Regions from separate parts of the Homo sapiens genome. Here region 1 is linked to region 2. Evidence: promoter capture Hi-C in human tissues and cell types (Jung and others, 2019). All regions are on one chromosome and are shown on one strand. The core of a region is centred on a gene start or on the middle of the fragment in contact, and the rest is flanking DNA. Distances in the headings are between cores, read along the strand shown.

The links. The method cuts DNA at HindIII sites, captures the fragments that hold promoters and counts their contacts. A contact is called where the count stands out against the background at its distance.
Region 1: a fragment that was not itself captured here is called in contact with the fragment with the promoter of RPUSD3 in region 2 in 2 of the 25 tissues and cell types used here (adrenal gland and heart left ventricle).

What each region holds. Positions count from the first base shown.
Region 1 is chr3:9,496,641-9,502,366 of GRCh38, forward strand. It overlaps LHFPL4 (LHFPL tetraspan subfamily member 4), which reads right to left. Exons shown (of 4, transcript NM_198560.3): 4 at 1,721-5,671. The coding sequence ends at 5,571. Among named protein-coding and RNA genes, the nearest start is that of LHFPL4, 54 kb to the right of the region's middle. RefSeq lists an enhancer at 4,686-5,411. The HindIII fragment of the contact is 7,926 bases long and covers 1-5,726 here.
Region 2 is chr3:9,842,251-9,847,699 of GRCh38, forward strand. It overlaps RPUSD3 (RNA pseudouridine synthase D3), which reads right to left and starts at 1,758. Exons shown (of 9, transcript NM_173659.5): 1 at 1,640-1,758; 2 at 1,215-1,351. The coding sequence starts at 1,740. RefSeq lists an enhancer at 1,621-1,700. The HindIII fragment of the contact is 13,991 bases long and covers 1-5,449 here.

The DNA.
Region 1 (5,726 bases), core at 2,361-4,860, 340 kb before region 2:
CTGCAGCCTGGGCAACAGAGGGAGACTCCATCTCAAAATAAATAAATAAAACAAATGATGCAGTCTCAGGTATGGCTTTATAACAATGCAGAAATGGGCTAACAGTCTACCCCTAATCCAGCCCCCTAATGCTACCACCAGAGTGCTCTTTCTAAAATGCAAATTGAGTCATTTTTCCTTCTGCTTCAAATCCTTCAGTGGTTCCCCATTGCTCTTAAGTCCAAACTCCTGTCCATGGCCCCCAAGCTTTCTCATGGTCTGGCCCTCGCCTGTCTCTCTAGACTCATCTCTGACTCCTCCCTGCCTCGTACTTCACATTTCAAACTAAGTTGCTTTTCGTCCTCCATACACAGTTCTGCTGCCTACCTCAGTCTTTTTCCTCAAGCTGCCTTCTCTTTGACCTTCCTGACCCCTCCTGCCTAACTTCTCATCCTACAGCAAGACCTCCTCCTACGCTGCCCACGTCACCAAAAGCCATTTAAAGTATTCCTGCCTAGGATACCCACAATACCCTGCATGTGGCAAGTCATGCGTTATTTTCACATGTTCATCTCCCCAACCAGAATTATGCTTAAGACAGCATCTCTGTTTTGCTCATTTTTTTTCTAGCTTAAGTGCTTAGCATACACTAAGTGCTTAAAATGTGTTGGAAGAGGACTCCATTTCCAAGTCTTCAATGTAGCTACCTGGTACTGCGCACATTACAGCGTGCCAGATACCCTGCAGAGCAAAGTGCATATATTCCCTGGTATGTTGCTTACAGCTTCCCTTGGGGGAGTCACTATTGTTTTCTCTATTTATTCAATGGGGCTTTAGAGAGAGGCAAAGTGACTGGACTGAGCACTCTGGCTAGAGCAGATGAGGCTCTACTCTTTTCTGCCTGTATGGACTTGGACAAGTCGTGCCTGTGCTGTCAGAGGTGTGCAGAGATTACTGTATCCCTCTCTCTATTCACTCCTTTCTCCTTTGTATCAGAACCCTATTTTTTTTTTTTTTTGAGACGGAGTCTTGCTCTGTTGCCCAGGCTGGAGTGCAATGGCGCCATCCCACCTCCCTGCGACCTCCGCCTCCTGGGTTCAAGCAATTCTCCTGCCTCAGCCTCCTGAGTATCTGGGATTACAGGCACGCACCACCATGCCTGGCTAATTTTTGTATTTTTAGTAGAGACAGGGTTTTGCCATGTTGACCAGGCTGGTCTCAAACTCCTGACCTCAGGTGATCCACCCACCTCAGCCTCTGAAAATGCTGGGATTACAGGCATGAGCCACCTTGCCCGGCCAAGAACCCCAGTTTTATTTGGGCTGGCAATGCGCCGAGATAACAGACCACACTTTTTCAGCCTCCTTTACTGTTATGTGGCCCAAGTGACACAGTCCTATGGAATTTCCAGAAGTCTTCAAATGAAATGTGGACCAGGTGACTGGAGCTCCAGCAGCCCACGTTGGGCCATGAGGTGTTCTTGAGGATGTAGCCAGGATTGAAAATGGCAGTGCAGAAAGATAGGAGCCTGGGTTCTGGATAACACTGAGAGCCATATCAGCCGTGATCTACCCACCTCCAGGCTTTTTTTTTTTTTTTTTTTTTTTTTAATGTGATGGTAAAATAAACTATCTTGTTAAGCCACAGTAGTAGGGTTCTGTTAATACCAGACAAACCTGATCCATAGGGTTGGAATCTTACCCCTCTTGATCCCAGTGACTCAGAGAAGTGGCAGCCAGCGTGGGTGATAGAAAGTGTTTCTTTATTTGAATGTCATTCCACCTGCACTGAAGCTTAAACCCAGCAGCAGCAGAAGGGGTCAGGACCAAAATAAATGTTACCAAATTAGACAATGAACAGCGAGGACACACTCAGACAAAACTTACTAATGGGGTATAGACAACACCAAGCTATCCTAACAGCACACAGCACAGGCCCTCGGAGGCCTGCCCATCAGAGCTCTGCGGAAGGCTCCCTTGTTCCCTGTTCAGGAAACTCCAGTCCCACCCAAAGGTTAGCCGTGGGCCAGGCAGGGGCCTGCAGAAGTTTCTGGTGCTGGGAACATCCCAGCTTCTCCAAAGACAGGGTTTCCCTTTCTCTTTCTCAGTTCACACTGGAAGCTGGAGAAAGGTTATTCCCCGTGTGCCCAAGCAGGATGCTCAAAAGGCCAGGGACTCTCCCCACAGCCTTATCTAAAAGTTCTCATCATCTTGGCTATCAGGCCTGAAAAGGATCTTGATTCTTTGGTCCTCACCCCCTCAGGAAAGTTTTCCTTCATGGGTACCGGTCCCCAAAGACGAAAGTTTTCATAGCCCCGGTTCCCAGAAGGACTCAACTGACCAGACTGTGGGCCAGGGACTGAACCACCCCTAGGCTGTGGCTGCCGTGGCCTCTCCTGAGTCCCCAGATCAGGCAGAGAAAAGCGGGCAATGGCAGACCCCTGATCACAGTTAGGGGGGTCACAGTTAGGGGGGGACTTCTCTTGGGACCTGAAGCCGGAAGGCTCTAGGTTGGAGCCCAACAAGGCCCTCCTGGGGTCAGAAACAGGCACTGATCTCCTCTGCTTACCTCCTCCTGAAGGCTAAAGCCAGATCGCCCGACGAGAGCAGAGGCAAACCACAAAGCCCCCTTCCCATGATGTCTTTATTGCCCCAGGAGGGCCATCAGGGCCTCACCTGGGGCCCCCACTGGAGCACCTGCCACCTGCCCCATCCACACCTCTGCAGAACCCAGGGCCCCAGTCTATGGTTTGGTCCCCACTCTGACTTCTACCCCTTGCCTGTGTCACCCTGGGGTTCCCGCAGACTTCAGCCCACACAACTCTGCCTTCCTGACTCCAAACTCCCTGGTGCATCTCCCCCTGGCTCTGCCAAGATGGCAGCTGGCCAGGTGCGGTGGAATGGGAATGTTGCCAGGCTACCCCACCAGGGAACTAGCCTCCCTCCTCTCCACCCGGCGCTGACCCACTCCTAAGTCAGCTGGACCCACTACGTCCTCTGAAGTGGCTTCCTTCACTCCAGTTCTTCCCAAAAGGATGCGGCCTTGGCTGCCTGTGCCCCGGGCCTCCAGCCTCTGAAAGGTCAGTTCTATCCCCCGCACCAGGGCACAGGTTTGGTGGGTGTCCTTGGGGAACAAGGTGTGGCAAGGACACCTGGTGGCAGGCGTCCTTGGGGGAACAAGCTCTCCCCTCACCCAGTGCCCAGATAGCAACCCCCTCCCCACTGCCCCGCATCCTGGCTCCTTCATCCTCCTCTCCTTCCTCTGCATCCCATTCTTGCCCCCAACCCACATCTCCATTTACCTCTTCCCCGCTCCCGAGTCCTTTTTCCGCCTTTTCATCCATTTCCCCTCCCCCACCCCAAGCTCTCGGGCAGCCTCTCAGCTGGTCTCTCATCTCTCTCCACCTCTGCCCCGTCTCTCTCGATCTCTCCTCCTCGCGCTGTTTCTCTGTGCCTGTGCGTCCCCCTCGCTCCTTCTCCAATCATCTCTCATCTCCCTGTCTCTGCACCCCTCTTCTCCTCACCCCAGTGTCTTCTCCCATTCCCAGTCGCTTGCTGCGCCCCTCCCCTCACTCTCTCCTAACTCTGCTCTCCCCCTCCAACGCTGGGCTTGGTTTGCATCTTTGAGGAACTCCCTCCTACCCCAACTCCCTCCCACGGGGCTCCCGCATCCTCCCGCATTTAACTCGGACCCTCTGTCCCGCAGCGCCCCTACCCCAGGCCGACTGGACTGTCCGGGAAGGCGCCGGCGGGGAAGGGGAGCCCAGCGCTGGGACCAGAGCACTGCGGGGAGGCTTTGCCCGGGAGGAGTAAGTGGAGGAGTGAAGTCGGGACTTGGTAAGTTCCAGGTGGCAGGAACCCACTAGGTCCCAACATCTGATTCCGGCTAGGGTCCAGAGTGGGGAGACAGGCAGGGGACTTCTAGGGTCTTTCTTGGAAACCCTAACTCTCAGGTCCAAGTCCTGTGGAAATGAACACAAGGTTGGCAAACACATGGCGCTCAAGCGACCCTCTCCCCTCCGCCGAGGCCCGAGGCGGCTTCCCCTGGCATCCTGCAGGGCACCGCCCCTTCCCTGCAGGTCCAGGCCGCCAGGAGGGGGCGCTGGACGAAGCCGGTCTGCACCAGCAACTAGTGCTGAGGGAGCTGTCCAGGCCCCAGGGCAGGGAGGCTCCCCGGGAGAGATGGCTCTGCCGCCAGACCCACAGGGGAATGACGGGTGTTCAAAAAATACCAGGAGTCTCCCTCACCTGCTCCCTGCCAAGGGGAAGGGAGACGCCCCCACAGTGGGTGGAGGGGGGAGAAACTTCTCACCTGTCCCCCAACACACACACACACACACACGCTCACACGCGCACACACACGCACACACATTTCACCCACATACACATACACTCATGCCTCGGCTCCAAGCACTGCCCATAGGTGCAGACCCTGGGCATATCGCAAGGCGAGAGGTGGGCCAGGAGGAGGAAGAGGCTGGGACAGGGTAACAAGGCTTAGGAAGGGGGACAGGGGTACCCTGTTCAGAGATGACCTGCAAGTTCAAGTTATGCAGAAAAGTATCAAAGAGACAAGACAGTCTCTGCCCTTGGTAGACGCCTGGGGTATGGAGGGCATGAAAAGGGGCAGAAGGGGTAATGCATCCCCCAACTCCCCACCTCTGGGGTCCCCTCCACACCCCCAACCCTGACAACAGGGCCAAGAAGTCTGTGCTGTACAAAACAGGCCAGGGTCAAGGGTCCAGTCATTGGTGAGACATCCCAGCAGAGAGGAGGCCTGGGCAAAAGAGGCCAAGGTCAAGGGCTCAGTCATCAGTGAGATGTTCCAGCAGAGAGGAAGAGGAGGCCAGGCCAGCCCGGGCTGAGCAGCTTCTAAGCTCCAACTGCCGAGGCCACGTACCCCCTCCCGCTACCTCCAGAGCCTGAAAGTCTTTTCTGACTCTGGGCTGATCAGGGCCCCGGTCTGCAGCTGACAGCAGGGCCCTGTGCATCCCTCGGTGCAGCTCTCCCTCAGGGTGAGCTGGGAGCAGGCCGGAATGGAGCAGAGGAGGTCCCAGGGGAGACTGGTGGCACCTGGAGCTTTGTGGCAGATGTGGTGGAACCAACATCAGCCAAAAAAGAAAAAAAAAAAAAGTAGGAAAGAGTCCAGCCCACCCTGGAGCAGTATCTAGAATAAATTTCTTGAAGAGGCAGGGACCAGAAGAGGTGCGGATACAGCCAGGCGGCAGCCCTCCAGACTGAGGGGGCCTGGGGAGCTGGAACTACAGCTCCGCTCTCCCTGGGGATCTGCAGGGACCTCCAGGCCAGTCTAGAGAGGAGAGGAGAAGCCCAAGGGCCTACGCAGATGCAGGCTCCCTTAGGTCAAATTGAGGGAGGAGCAAGAATTAGACCCTCCCAAGGTTTGGAGGGCCTCTCCTCTCCCCCAGGCCACATCCAGGCTTTCCTCTCCTCAAAGCCTGGAGCTTGCAGGGTAGTCGGTGAGAAGTAAGTCTGAGATCAGGGTCTTCCCTCAGAGCTTGAATGGAGTGACGAGAGGGCAGAAGGCAGGACAAGCTGAGGTCAGGCCAATTACTGGGCTGTGATCCTGGCCTTTCAGGGTCCCTGTGAGTGAGCCACGGGGCAGGGAAGGACTCCCCATCCAGAGACATCACCCCCGGGCCGCAACACGGAGCTTACTGTAGAGCCCACAAAATCTAAGAGAGAGAGAGAGAGAGAGAAGGAGAGAGAATTAGAGAAAGTCAGAGGCTG
Region 2 (5,449 bases), core at 508-3,007:
ATACATCACACGAACATCAGCAAAAGCAACGGTAACCCTTTATGCAGCACTAAAGAGTTTCCAGAGCACTTTCTCACGCATCTTAGCACATGTCCCCATCATGACTCTCAGACATGAGTTAACTACCCCACACCAAATTCAACTTCTTTCTGTTCCTCTGCCACCTCAGAGCCTCGGCACTTGCTGTTTCCTGTCCCCAAATTTCCCAGGTCTGGCTCCCTATCATCTTGGCTCAAATGTCACATCACGGAGAGGTCTGAATCTCCAATCTAATGTCTGCCTTCCTCCTGCAGTTCCTCACCATCATAACACCCTGTTTTAGTTTATGCATAGCACTTACCACTAGTAACTTGTTCATTTATTTTCTGACATCCATTTCTCCCGTTAGAGAGAAATCCATTTCTCCCCTGAGAGCAGAAACCATATCTATCTTTTTCAGCACTGTATAGCCTGCCTAGAACAGTGCCTGGAACATAGCATATGTTCAAGAAATAGTTGAGAAAAGGAATAAATCACTGAATAGAGAGTGGGGTTCAGAGAAATTCAGTTATTTTCCTAAAGCCGCACAGCAAGCTGATCACAGAGCCTAGGTATGTCTGACTCCAAAGCCTGTGTTTTGTCCGTCGATAAATAATCATTATTTATTTATTTATTTATTTAGACTGAGTCTTGCTCTGTCATCCCAGGCTGGAGCGCAGTAGCACGATGTCGGCTCACTGCAACCTCTGCTATCCGGGTTCAAGTGACTCTCCTGCCTCAGCCTCCCGAGTAGCTGGGATTACAGGCGGACGCCGCCACACCTGGCTAATTTTTGTGTTTTTAGTAGAGACGGGGTTTCACCATGTTGGCCAGGCTAGTCTCGAACTCCTGACCTCAGGTGATCCGCCCGCGTCAGCACCCTAAAGTGCCGGGATTACAGGCGTGAGCCACCGCGGCCAATAAACAATAATCTAGTATAGCAACTCCCGTAACTGAGCGCCGGCTATGTGCAAGGCTCGGTAGTTATTTGCATCTTCTCCCCACTCTTAACCCTACTGCATCATGGCAGTAGGGTTAAAAGCGGGGAGAGGGTGCAAATTAGGTGGCTTGTCCCAGCTCATGCTGCTAGTGGGAGGCAGAAGCAGGGCTGATCCCGTGGCTTCAATGGAGAGCCCAACTGCACGCCGAGGCAGTCCCCTCCCGGTCCTTGTGCGGCCGTGCCTCTCACCCCTCACCTTTCCGGTCCACCACGGCTGCCCGCAGCGCATCAACCAGCTCCTCCCGACTGAGGTTTTTTGGCAGCAGCCCCGCGAAGGGCTGGTCCCCGAGGGGCCCCGACCGTTGGCAGGAGCCGCGGGGTTGCCTCTGATGCCTGGACAAGGAGGGAGAAGCAATGGGAGTCATTCCATCCCGAGGTGCCACCCATTCCTATCTCCGGACGCCTCTTCCCAAATCCTGCGGCCTCTGACAAATGCCTCACAATGTCTGGGCTGACCTCGAAAATTCAGGTACGACCGGTCCCATTCTACAGCGGAGGGCACCGAGGCTCAGAGAGGCCAACGGGGCTGTTTTCGGGTAACATCTACCTGATCCAGATCCCGCACGTGCCTTCCCCCTGCCCTAGCCTCCGTCCCGCATGAGAGAGGGGGTACTTAATCACCGGGCTTCGGTGCCAAAGCCTGCGTCCTCGGGCACTGGGCGGACACCCAGGCCCCGCCGCCAGCCACTCCAGAACCGGCCCAAAACACGGCGGCCGTCCATCTCCCGAGCCAGGACAGCGCGCATGTGCGTCCAGAGGGGCAGACCCGCGCTCCAGCCAGCGCGCTGATTGGTCAGCTGGAGTGTCAATCGGAATGGTGACCGGGCGGGACTCAGAGCCTGAGGAGGCGGGGCTTTTCCTCCGCCCAGGAAGGAAATGCAGAAATGCCTTCCTATGCTTTTAGGGAGAGCGCTGTAGCAGAAGAATTTGATCTGATCAAAAAACCTGTCTTAGCAAAAAACCTGAAGCCGCCTTTGCAAAAATTATATTACAAAATTATGACAGCGAAAGAGATCTGATCTAACCAACCCGCAGCTTGCCTTTAACCTCTAAACGGTCCTTGGTCATTCCTGGGCTTGGGCCAAGCTAACTTTGGGAGAAATTAGTTCGTAGTCTAAATGATAATTGCCCTTCCCCCGAACTAAACTGGCTTCATAGAGTTAATGAAAGGCCACCAGGTTAGGAGTAGTAGAGGGACCTGAATTCTGCTAAGGGTTAGAGGTAACTGATTACCAGCGGTTATTCCGGAGGTCACAGTGTTTGCAGCTTCCCCAGCTCACGATTGTCCAACCTGAGATTGGCCTTTGGAGATGTCTTTCCAGGCTTTTGCATTTCTGACGGCCGGATCACCCCACCCGGACCCTCAACTCTTGGCTCTACTAGTCCTGTGGCCCCTCGAAGTCAGGAGATCGAGACCATCCTGGCTAACACGGTGAAACCACGTCTCCACCAAAAATACAAAAAAATTAGCCGGGCGTGGTGGCGGGCGCCTGTAGTCCCAGCTACTCGGGAGGCTGAGGCAGGAGAATGGCGTGAACCCGGGAGGCGGAGTTTGCAGTGAGCCGAGATCGTGCCACTGCACTCCAGCCTGGGCGACGAGCGAGACTCCGTCTCAAAAAAAAAAAAAAAAGAAAAAAGAAAAAGAAAGTAGAAGAACACAGAAAAAAAAGAATAATATAATGACTGCCCACATTCCTACCATCAGAATTAGTCATTGTGAAACAATATATATATGTATAGGTTTCCTGTTTTTCTTGTTTAAGAAATGAAAGGGATAAAAGTAAATTCCCCTTTACTGCGTGCTTCCAGTTTTCACTCCCTCCCCAGTCTCCACTTTGAGTTTGGTGTGAACATTTTCCTAATGTGTTTTGGTTTTTGTTTTTTGGAGACAGAGTCTCGCTCTGTCACCCAGGCTAGAGTGCAGTGGCCCGATCTCGACTCACTGCAACTTCCACCTCCCGGGTTCAAGCGATTCCCCTGCCTTTGCCTCCTGAGTAGCTGGAATTACAGGTGCGGTGCCCGCCACCACACCCGGCTAATTTTTTGTATTTTAGTGACGGGGTTTCACCATGTCGCCCAGGCTGGTCTCGAACTCCTGAGCTCAGGCAATCCGCCCGCCTTGGCCTCCCAAAGTGCTAGGATTACAGACGTGAGCCACTGTGCCCGGCCACTAATGTGTTTTTTTGCTTGCTCTGTCATCCAGGCTGGAGTGCAGTGGCACAATCACAGCTCACTGCAGCCTCAACCTCCCAGGCTCAAACGATCCTCCCACTTCAGTCTCCTGAATAGCTGGGACTACAGGTGTGCACCACCATACCTAGCTTTTTTTTTTTTTTTTTTTTTTTTTAAAGATATGGGGTCTCACGATGTTGCCCAGGCTGGTCTCAAACTCCTGGGCTCAAGATAAGAAAATAAAAATAACAAAATAATTTTTAAAAAATCAAACTCCTGGGTTTAAGGGATTCACCCACCTACTTCGGCCTCCCAGAGTGCTGGGATTAAAGGCCGCACGGGGCCTTTGACAGACACTTCTTTTTTTTTTTCCTTCGAGATGGAGTCTCACTCTGTCACCCGGGCTGGAGTTCAGTGGCACGATCTTGGCTCACTGCAACCTCTGCCTCCTGGGTTCAAGCAATTCTCCTGCCCCAGCCTCCCAAGTAGCTGATACTACAGGCATGCACCATCATACCTGCCTAATTTTTTGTATTTTTTAGTAGAGATGGGGTTTCACCATGTTGACCAGGCTGGTCTCAAACTCCCGACCTCAGGTGATCCACCTGCCTCAGCCTCCCAAAGTGTTGGGATTACAGGTGTGAGCCACCGTGCCCGGCCTTTGACGGACACTTTCTAATAGGCTTTTTCATCCAGCATTACACACCCCTATGAGGAAGGCAGGGTGGGTTGGGGCCCTGCCTTACAGATGAGGACACAGTGGCTGTTGTGGTTCTTTGTGTCCCTTAAAGGCATGCCAAAAGCTATGGGTGGGCTCAGAATGCCCCGGAAGGAAGTCAGATAACTGAAAAGAACACTTGCACTGGTCACAGGAAAACCAGCCTGAGCTGCCGGCAGCCTCTGGGAGGTGTTGGGATGGCCTGCCCCTGGTTTCCATGCGGGTCCTGACCCAGAGAGCAGGCCCCAGGGGAGTGGGGGTCAGCAGAGGCAGGATGGGGCCCGGTCTGCTTGTGAGGGAGTGCTGGGAGGGTGGAGTCTCACTCTTGAGGCACAGAGCTCAGCCAGCGGAAGAGGGGATGCAGGGATCAAGCCCCAGGCCCTGGGGCCTGAGGTGTGAGAGCTGTCTTTGATGGTTGAAGCCAGCCTTCCCAGGCCAGGCCAGGCCAGGCTGCTCTCTCTCCCCGAGGATGCATTTCTTGCTCTGTTATCAGCCCTGAGCTCTGAGAGAAGGGACTTTCTTTTTTTTTTTTTGAGACAGAGTCTTGCTCTGTTGCCCAGGCTGGAGTACAATGGCGTGATCTCGGCTCGCTACAACCTCTGCCTTCTGGGTTGAAGCGATTCTCTAGCTGCAGCCTCCCAAGTAACAGAGATTACAGGCGCCTGCCACCACACCCTGCTAAGTTTTGTATTTTCAGTAGAGAAAGGGGTTCACCATGTTGACCAAGCTGGTCTTGAACTCCTGGCCTCAAGTTATCCACCCGACTCGGCCTCCTAAAGTGCTGGGATTACTGTCATGAGCCACTGAACCTGGCCAGGAGGGACTTTCTTAAGAAGGTCACAAGAGGACTCAGCACCTGCCAACTCCCAAGTAGAGCCTGGGCAGGGGTGGGAGGTGTCCCCGGGGACCCCAGTGCACGAGAGCCCTGTGCCTGCACGGCCCTCCACCAGGAGGCCAGGCCTCAGAGGCAGGCCAGCATTGGAGCCACTTACCACATGAACAAATGTCTGTGTCCCCCCAAACTCATGTGTTGACACCTCATCCCCAAGGTGATGGCATCTGGAGGTGGCATCTTTGGGAGGTGATGGGGTCATGAGGGTGGGGCCCTTGTGGTTGGGATTAGCGCCCTTATACAAGAGGCCCCAGAGAGCTCCCTCGCCCCTTCCGCCATGTGACCACAGTGGGAAGATGGCAGGCATGACCCAGAAAGTGGGCCCTCACCAGACACCCTGTATGCCAGCTGATCTTGGACTGCCAGCCTCCAGAACTGTGAACATTATATTGCTGTTGTTAGAGAGACCCAATTTACAGTATTTTGTCACAGCAGCCCCAACAGACTAAGACGTATGACTGCAAGCTCTGAAAATGCAGCCAACACCACATGTTGGAATCATGATATTTGGGATGTGTTGGGGTAAACCACATGCATTAGTAAAATAAACTGTTCAACACCTGTGAAAAGGAGAGAAAAAATATAAATAAATGAAATAAACTATTACTTTCTGAAGGGGTGGGTTGTCCCTCCACACCTGTGGGTGTTT